3 separate regions of the Homo sapiens genome follow, and all the other regions are linked to region 2. Evidence: promoter capture Hi-C in human tissues and cell types (Jung and others, 2019). All regions are on one chromosome and are shown on one strand. The core of a region is centred on a gene start or on the middle of the fragment in contact, and the rest is flanking DNA. Distances in the headings are between cores, read along the strand shown. Region 1 overlaps UBR1 (ubiquitin protein ligase E3 component n-recognin 1). Region 2 holds the start of STARD9 (StAR related lipid transfer domain containing 9). Region 3 overlaps TMEM87A (transmembrane protein 87A).

Region 1 (3,031 bases), core at 28-2,527, 380 kb after region 2:
GCAGGGCATGGTGGCGCCTGCCTGTAGTTTCACTACTTGGGAGATTGAGATGGGAAGAGCCCAGGAGTTTGAGGCTGCAGTGAGCTATAGTCAAATCACTGCACTCCAGCCTGGGCAACAGAGCAAGATCCTGTCTAAAAAACAAACAAACAAAAACAAAAAAACCCAAACCAAAACAAACAAAAAAACAAAAACAAGGAAGTGTGTTAGTTATGGCATATACCAATTGCGAGTTCAGAAAATGATTTAAAATTACACACATATATATACACACTCTCCTTACCTGAAATGAGAAGCTTGATTCAGGAGGCAGCTATAGTCATCAGGAAGCTCTATCAAACTATTTCTTTTTCTAGGGTACCTACAATGTAATTTAAAAGGCAATTTTATTTTAGAGTAAATAACCCCAGATCAAAAACTGCCCAAAGTGATAGAAGAATGTCTTAAAAATAACAAAAGGATCTACACTTGCAATCCAAAGTAATTCCCACTGTTGACTTGATCAAATCCAAACTTCTCAGCCTATAATTCCAAATCTTTCATCAGCTGGATTCCTTTCCAAACTTAACTTCCTCTAGTTTCTAGGACTAAACTGTTATAGCTAGATTTCTGTACTGTATAGGGAAGTAACATAAAGTAGTAGTTAAGAACACAGCCTTTGAAATTAGAGCTGGTTACAAATCCTAAATTCTCTGACACTTCACAAGTCTTTGAACCTAAGCCTGTATTTCCCTGTCTGTAAACTAGGGATAAAATATACCATACTCCAATCATGGGGCCACCATCAAATCAGGTTCTGGGGAAGGGAGGGAGAGAAACATTACATTAAATGAACTTATCAATTAAAAGGCTAATATTGATTTAAGAAATGTCAAATTAAATATGAATATTAGCATTAAGGAAACATATAGAGCGGTTGAGGACTAAATGAGATACTGAAGTAAAACACAATATACTTAGTACTTAATACATGCTTGCAAATGTTACTCATTCTCACCAAACTAGATACAATAAAAGCCTTGCTTGCATGTATTGGGGAAGATCATCTGAATAATGTGAAATTCTCTCCTCAAACCCCAGTCAATCAACCAATCAACCAATTTATTGATTTATTTATTGGAGGCAGAGTCTCACTCTATCCCTCAGGCTGGAGTGCAATGGTGCGATCTCGGCTCACTGCAACGTCCGCGTCCTGGGTTCAAGCGATTCTCATGCCTCAGGCTCCTGAGTAGCTGGGATTACAGGCGCCTGCCACCATGCCCAGCTATTTTTTGTATTTTTACTAGAGACGGGGTTTCGTCATGTTGGTCAGGCTGGTCTCGAACTCCTGACCTCAGGTGATCCGCCCACCTTGGCCTCCCAAAGTGCTGGGATTACAGGTGTGAGCCACGGCGCCTGGCCCCAATCAATTTAAATTCTGTAATTCTTTTCATCTTCAATTCAGTTGTCTATATTTAGTACAACCATAACATTTATTTGGCAAACCTAGACACTTTTTGGTTTGTTTTTTTAGAGACAGTATTCACTCTGTTGCCCAGGCTGGCCTTGAACTCCTAGGCTCAAGCAATACTCCTGTCTCAGGCTCCTGAGTAGCTGGGACTACAGGTGCATGCCACTGTGCCTGGCTTAAATTTTATAATTATTTCTATACTCAGCTAAAAATGATCTCTAAGACTAACCTTGCCTCATTAACAATCTTTTCCTCTTTAAATTTCTATAGCACTAATGGTATATTCCATACATCATTATACTTTATGTTATAATGTCTTAAGTTTTATGTTCATAACTAGATTGTAGATGACTCATGACCAAAAGCTATGTTACCTCTTTTAAATTTTCCAGAGTATTTCAGTACCATGCTGGGTAAATAGCAGATGTATAAAAGGTGTACAGTGAATTGAAATAAAGGAAAAATTGTGTGAGATTAACAGTCCAAAAATATGTATTCATATCTTAAACTTTTCTTTTTTCTCTACTCGAAGATCTTTTCTTAGTGATGTGACTCCTACTGCATCTGAGCACAGAGGCTGGATCTATTATCACTAAATCTCTAAAGATGTGTTACAAGTGAAAGCAGCATATGCACATGTACAGTGGAGGTGAAAGGAGTTCCAGGGTGAGAGAAGATGAGAAAAGGCGGCAAATGTGCACTGTCTTGAAGTTTGCTTTATCCACAGGAAAATGGTACTAGTGTTGGTATTTAAAGCTGGGAGTCAATTCCTCCACTTGTTTATAGATGTGATTCAAGTGAGTAAAATTAGACACCGTATACAATACCAGTCAGGCCCTCGGAGGGGATACAAAGACAATAAGCATGCAGTTCTTATTCGTCAGTTATTCTGGGTGCAAACAAGTGGACATTTATGAGAGAGACTATATTAGGGGAGGCTTCATGGAGGAGGTGGCATTTAAATTAGTACTTAAGAAGTAGATTTTGTTAGAGACAACTTAAGGGAGATAAGAGGGCTGAAGAAAAGTTTTTGGGGTAGTTTCTAAGGACACAGGAAGGAAAAAGGATATAGTTCTATGTATATCTTGCTTTATTCTAACAAAAAAAATCAAAAACAAAAGTGGCTTATAGAAATATTGTAAACCACTACCTTTTGAAGTTAATACACCAGCAGCTCCATGATGCCTCCTCCAACTTTGCCTTTTGACAGGTATGTGCTAGCTTAAAAAAGATTCTCTTAAGAGGAACTGCTGGCTTCTAATAATCTAAGAGGAAAAGGACAGCCACTCCAAGAAAAAAACATTTGTAGGAAGAATCTGATTTCTGGCAAAGACCTAACAGAAATCAGGAACACTGTACTGAGTGAGAATGAAGAAAGCAGACTAGAAACTATGCTCAACAAATCAACTACTTTAGGAAACACAACTTGTGGATGAGGGAGAAAGGATTAAGTAGTAAAACCAACCTGACCACGGTGTTTTTTTGCTTCAAACAGTTTAGTAAGGCAGGATCTGCACACCACCTGTATGTGGAGCCAAGAGAAAAGACAAATGGATTATCACAGCTTCAATGCATGATTTG
Region 2 (3,057 bases), core at 343-2,842:
ACATCTCAAAAAAAAAAAAAAAAAAAAAAAAAAAAAAAAGGAAAACATACCTATCTATATACCTATATACTCTTAATATGATTTGAGAACAAGCAAAGTCATTATATGACAACTTGAAGCAAAAGGAAGGTGAAGGATCCAAACAATTTTATGCCAGTAAGGGATGATTTGATAAATTTGGAAAGGTTTGGTTTAAAATATGTCAAGATAACAAGAGAAGCAGCTTCTGCTGACCAAGAGGGAGCAAATGAGTTCCTAGACACCATTAAGGAAATAATTGAGAAGAAAGGGTATCTGCCTGAACAGCTTTTCGGTGCATATGCAAGTTCCCTATTCTGGAAAAATAAATGCCACAAAGGACATTTATTAGTAAGGAAGAGAAGCAAGCACCAGGATTTAAGGCAGGAAGGGATACGCTAATATTTTGTGCAAATGCAGTTGGGTTTATGATCAGCACTGCCCTTATCTATATGGCTGCTAACCCTCAAGCCTTGAAGGGAAAAGATAAACACCAGCCACCTGTCTTTTGGTTGTACAAGAAGACCTGGACAATAACCCTTTATCTGAATTGGTTCCATCTATGCTTTGTCCCTGATGTCAGGAAGTACCTTGCCAGTAAGGGACTGCCTTCTATTTTTTTATTTTATTTTTTTTAGACAGGGTTTTGCTCTGTCGCCCAGGCTGAAGTACAGTGGCGCGATCCAGGCTCACTGCAGCCTCCGCCTCCAGGGTTCAAGTAATTCTCCTGCCTCAGCCTCCCGGGTAGCTGGAATTACAGGCGCACGCCAACAGGCCCGGCTAATTTTCGTATTTTGAGTACAGACGGGGTTTCACCAGGTTGGTCAGGCTGAACTCGAACCCCTGACCTCAGGTGATCTCGCTTCAGCCTCCCAAAGTGCTGGGATTACAGACGTGAGCCACTGCACCCGGCCTGCCTCGAAAATTTAACCACAGAATTGACAGTTCAAGCGAACGCAGAGAATAAAAGTATTTAGCAAATTACTTTGCAAACTTTCGGACCAAAAGTTGATTTACTTGACTTTACATAGCACGGACACCTAGTCGAGGAACAAAAACTATTTCTGGGTAAGCGGGGCCAGGAACAACAGACTTAGCACTGAGTCCTCGCGGCCCACTCGGCTCAGGATTGGCTGAAGCTGGGCCGGCACTGCTGGGCCCGGTGCGGCACGCGCATGGGTGGGGGCGTCCCAAGAGGCTGTAGGGCGGAGCGAGGCGGGGCGAGCCCGGGCGTCCTCCCGCCCACCGACTAGCCAAGGCTCGGCGGGCACCACCCAGCTCGGGATGCAGCGCGTGTTTGGGCGGGGGCGACCCGGGAGGCTTCGGATGGAACGAGGCGGAGCGAGCCCTGGCATCCTCCCGCCCACCAGGCTAAGGACTGGCCGAACGTCCACACGGGCCCGCCTGCTCTGGCTGCGGCGCGTGTTTGGGCGGGGGCGAGTCAGGAGGCTTTAAGGAGGATTGAGGGGAGGCGGGGCCGGGAGTTCTCCCGCCCACCGGGCTCAGGATTGGCCGAAGCTAGGCAGGCACCGCCCCGCTCGGGCGGCAGCTCGCGTCCGCGCGGCGGCGTCCCCAGAGGCGCGTGGGGCGGGCGGGGCTGGGTTGGGGCTGTGTCTGGGCTTAGGGCGGGGGCCTGGGATGCTGCCGCTGAGCTGACCCGCTGGACTTGGGTTGTGGCAGACGGATGGCGAACGTGCAGGTCGCCGTGCGGGTCCGGCCGCTCAGCAAGAGGTGAGTCTCCGCGGGAGAGGGCGCCTGAGGCTTCACAGGAGCTGAAAAGAGCGGGAGGTCCGCGTCTCCCCCTGCAGAGATTCTGGCGCGCAGAAATCGGTGACAAAGTGACCCGGGGGGTCGGGGTCCGGAATCCACGGAGGCCTGGCGGGACGGGACCTCAGTCGAGCTTTCGCGTTGTGTCCTGGGGATAGCGGTTCCCGGACGGCCGCGGGAGGGCTGCCCTGGGTGAGCGTCGCTGGCGTCCTGCCAGCAGGAGTTTCGAGGGACGGCGGCTCGAGGCTTGCTGCATCGGGTTGGGCCTTTGAGAAAGGCTGGGAGAGGGATGAGCATTCTCCTCTCTCTTTCTGGGGGCTTGGGAGTACCCATGAGGACTGAGGCTGAATGGTGTGTGTTTCTGGGTGCGCGTGGGCTTCTCTGCGAAGATGTGGAGAAAGCAGAAGGTGAGGGCGTGAGGGGGAAATTGAGGCCGACACAGGTCGCGGTTTCTTTCTATGCTCGACAGCTGATTTAATCCAGGACGGAACTGTTAAGTAGGGGAAGTTGTTCCAACCCCTTCTTTCTCTCAGAGCCCTCAGTGCCCGTTTTCTCGTGGCTTATTTTGATTCCGCACCTCTCATCTCAGCCCTTGAGACATCCAGTGTGCAGCCACGAACTTTTTTCTCTTTGTCACCAGATGAAGTGTTTTTTAAAGATCAATTAGAGTTTGTTGACAGGTGGAGAGAGTTTAAAGAGCCTTCTATGTAGTAAGACCGCCAAGAGCAAAGGACTTAGACTGTAAGGGACTAACTAGAGGTTAAGTTTTGGTGGGGAAAGGGTGGTTGGTGTGGAGGGAAGTGAGTGGTGGAAGGTAAATCTGGCAGAGGGTGCTTTGGGGACCAGGAGGCACATGTTGGAATTATTTGGCAAGTTTAAAAATCTCTGGGACATAAGATAGCTTGATAATTGGGCAGAAGGATCAAGAAAGGTATCGTCTCCCATAATAAAATTGGGTACTAGTGTGGATTATGTTCGTCCTCATATAGAAATGATTGGCTTTGAAAAGTCTTGTAATTGACAGACTAATGAGAAGAGCAATGAGATAGAAAGAAACAAAAAGTTAAAGAGAATAGGAAGAAGGCAAAAGAGGTACACTGAAGAAAGAGGGAAAGCAGATGCCTGACCTGCTGCGTTTTGATTGGTAAATGGCTTGTGACACCTGGCTTCTTCATAACTGGATGTGGTAGCTCAGGGCTGGGGGGGGTTTTATAAGTGCAGATGCTATGCTGGAGGTAGTCTCTGGTATATTCTGTATTTGTGAAACTGTTC
Region 3 (3,365 bases), core at 125-2,624, 320 kb before region 2:
GTGCCGTTTGCTAAGACTGTTGGAAAAATGCAGTATTAAGGCGGGAGTGTCCCAGTTTTCCCAGTACAGTCTGTCACGGCTTCCCTTGGCTAGGAAAGGGAAATCCCCCGACCCCTTGCGCTTCCTGGGTGAGGTGATGTCCTGCCCTGCTTCGGCTTGCCCTCCGTGGGCTGCACCCACTGTCCAACCATTCCCAGTGAGATGAGCCAGGTACCTCAGTTGGAAATGCAGAAATCACCCGTCTTCTGTGTCGATCACGCTGGGAGCTGTAGACGGAGCTGTTCCTATTTGGCCATCTTGGAATCCAGCTCCCATTCATTTTTACAGATGAATGATATTCCATTTTATGAACATACAACATTTTACTTTTTCATTCCTGCTTGTAGTTTGAGATTTGTGAGCCTCTCAATCTTTCTGAAATTCATACTTTCATCAAATTTGGTAAGTTTCTGGGCATTATTCCTTCAAATATTCTTCCCATACCTTTCTCCCTCTCTTCTCCCTCTGATGAATTCCTATTATGTGGATGTTGATACACCTGAGGGTGTCCCATAGGTCTCTCAGGCTCATCTTCATTCTTTTTATCATTTTTATCTCTATGTTCTCCTGGTTTCCTTTAGTTTCTTCATCCATGGTTTTTTTATTTTTAGCTCTTTGAGTATATTTAAGACAGTTCACTTAAAATCTTTGGTCTGGTAAGTCTAATGCTGAGGCTTCCTCTTCAAAGCATGTATTTTTTTTAATCCTGTAAATATGCCATACGTTGTTTCTGTGCATGCCTCATAATTTTCCACTGAAAACTGAATGTTATAAAGTGGCAACTCTGGAAACCACAATCTGCCCCCTCCTTGGGGTTTGTTAGCTGGTAATAATAATATGGGTTATGTCTCTTTTGCTTAGTAAGTTTTCTAAACCATTTTTGTAAAGTCTGCATTCTTAGACCTGTGTGGCTACTGGAATCTATATTCCTTTAGCTTAGTGGTCAGCTAGTGTTTTGACAAAGATTTCTTAAACACCAGGAGCCAAAGACAAAAAAGAACAGAATATCCTCCCAGTCTTTGCACCCTGGCGCAATCCTTCAATGCTTAGCTGGGCCAATTAAAGCCATTCCTTATTCTTCACTTTTTGCTTGTACAGAGCCAGAATGAAAGCTTAGGGTCATCTAAGGTCTTTTCTGATCGTATGTCCAGTCTTGAGAATATATATGGCTTTCTTCATAGCTCAATATACACAGAAGCCTTAAAAAGCCTTGTTCTCCCACAAATCTCCTTTCTGGACCCTTTCCTTCTCATGCTTGACAGTCTCTCTATTGCTTATCCCCACTGTTATCCCCTTCCCTATGCACATAATACTTCTGCATTCAAATGCTTTTGGCAAACACAACCCAGGAAGCCACTCCAGCCCTGGGAACACTCTAAGTTGGGGAAAACAAAGTTAAGTCCTGGCAAGGTTCCTTCAGGGAGCCTCCAGGCAGGTGAAAACACACAATGGCAAGTCTTTAAGAAAAAGGTCTGTATTAGTTCCCCTGGCACCAGCAACCTGCACCACGACTGCGAGTTGCCATCTTCCTGCCTCTGAACTGGGAAGGAGGGTATGGTAAACAAATTACAATATCACTGCACTTTCTTAATGTAATGTAGCAGCTTCTTTCTTTGTTGAACTTTTTCCTTATTAAGTTTTGGTTAGATTTCAAAGTTCTGTGAAAGCTGAATGTGATAGCTTTCATCAGCTTACTAGTTGCTTTTGTGGAGGCATGGAGACCTGGACCTCACTACTCCACAATTCTTGGTAATATCATTCCTATTAGCTCCATTTTATTATGTAAGAAACTGAAGCACAATAACATTTCCAAGGGAAATATTAAGTTGTGAAGTTGGGATTTCAAAGTCTAGGACATCTGACCCGAGAGCCTGGGCTCTTAACTACCATCTCAACTATTAATTATTTTGTTCTCCATAACAAAACTATTTTTTTCTTTTTTTTTTTCTCTTTTTCACAGTCTACCACTAGCTTGTGAACAGAACTGTTTTTAAAGCACTGTCTTCATGGTATGATCTCAAAATTGTAAGTGCCCTTCAAAAGAACCTTTTAACCCCATGAGTAAGGTAATTAAAGCTACAAGTGACAATCCAGTTATTGATGCTGTCAGACAGACAGCCTACAAGAGTAGTTTTGTTCCCAAAACATTGTTTTTGATTAAGCACTGCATTGTCAAAAATGCAATTGTTACAAAACTAAACATACTCTTACCATACAATCTAGCAGTCATGCTCCTTGATAATTACCCAAATGAGTTGAAAACTTATGTCCACATAAAAGCCTGGACACAAATGTTTACAACAGTTTTATCTATAATTGTTATAACTTGAAAGCAATCAAGATGTCCTTCAATAGATGAATGGATAAACTGTGATATATCCAAACAATGGAATATGATTCAGCACTAAAAAGAAATGAACTATCAAGCCACCAGAAGACATGGAGGAAACTTAAATGCATATTACTAACTGAAAGAAGCCAATCTAAAGAGGTCACATATTTGTACAATTCCAACTAGATGACATTCTGGAAAAGGCAAAACTATGAAGATAGTAAAAAGATCAATGATTGCCAGGAGTTGAAGGGGAAGGGAGAGATGAACAGGCAGAGCACAGAGGATTTTTAGGCACTGAAACTATTCTGTATGATACTACAAAGGTGAAGATGTCTTTACACATTTATCAAAATTCATACAATGTACACTGCAGAGTGAACCTTAAACTATAGACTTTGATAATAACATGTCAACGTGGTTCATCAACTTTAACAGTGTGCCACAGTGGTGCAGTATGTTGACGATGGGGGAGGCTAAGTGTATAGGTATAGACACAGCATGTGGGAGGTCTCCTTTTTTTTTTTTTTTTTTGAGACAGAGTCTTGCTTTATTGCTTAGACTGGAGTACAGTGGCATGATCATGGCTCACTGCAGCCTTGACCTCCTGGGCTCAAGTGATCCTCACTTCAGCCTCCCCTGTAGCGGTGACTATAGGCATGCACAACCATGCTGGGTAAATTGGGGGTTTTGTTTTTTTTTAAGACGGAGTTTTGCTCTTGTCGCCCAGGCTGGAATGCAATGGCACGATCTTGGCTCGCCGCTACCTCCACCTCCCAGGTTCAAGCCATTCTCCTGCCTCAGCCTCCCAAGTAGCTAGGATTACAGGCATGTGCCACCATGCGCAGCTAATTTTATATTTTTAGTAGAAATGGTTTTCTCCACGTTGGTCAGGTTGGTCTTGAACTCGTGACCTCAGGTGATCTGTCTGCCTGGGCCTCCTAAAGTGCTGGGATTACAGATGTGAGCCACCGCACCCGGCCAACTTTTGCTT

Evidence for each region. The method cuts DNA at HindIII sites, captures the fragments that hold promoters and counts their contacts. A contact is called where the count stands out against the background at its distance.
Region 1: a fragment that was not itself captured here is called in contact with the fragment with the promoter of STARD9 in region 2 in 2 of the 25 tissues and cell types used here (H1 embryonic stem cells and aorta).
Region 3: a fragment that was not itself captured here is called in contact with the fragment with the promoter of STARD9 in region 2 in 1 of the 25 tissues and cell types used here (aorta).

Annotation. Positions count from the first base shown.
Region 1 is chr15:42,957,730-42,960,760 of GRCh38, forward strand. UBR1 (ubiquitin protein ligase E3 component n-recognin 1) reads right to left here. Exons shown (of 47, transcript NM_174916.3): 43 at 2,916-2,972; 44 at 284-361. Among named protein-coding and RNA genes, the nearest start is that of TTBK2, 38 kb to the left of the region's middle. The HindIII fragment of the contact is 3,871 bases long and covers 1-3,031 here.
Region 2 is chr15:42,574,014-42,577,070 of GRCh38, forward strand. It overlaps STARD9 (StAR related lipid transfer domain containing 9), which reads left to right and starts at 1,593. Exons shown (of 33, transcript NM_020759.3): 1 at 1,593-1,749. The coding sequence starts at 1,703. RefSeq lists a silencer at 1,101-1,730. The HindIII fragment of the contact is 9,099 bases long and covers 1-3,057 here.
Region 3 is chr15:42,252,078-42,255,442 of GRCh38, forward strand. The region is part of intron 6 of TMEM87A (transmembrane protein 87A); the gene reads right to left. Among named protein-coding and RNA genes, the nearest start is that of GANC, 19 kb to the right of the region's middle. The HindIII fragment of the contact is 5,333 bases long and covers 1-3,365 here.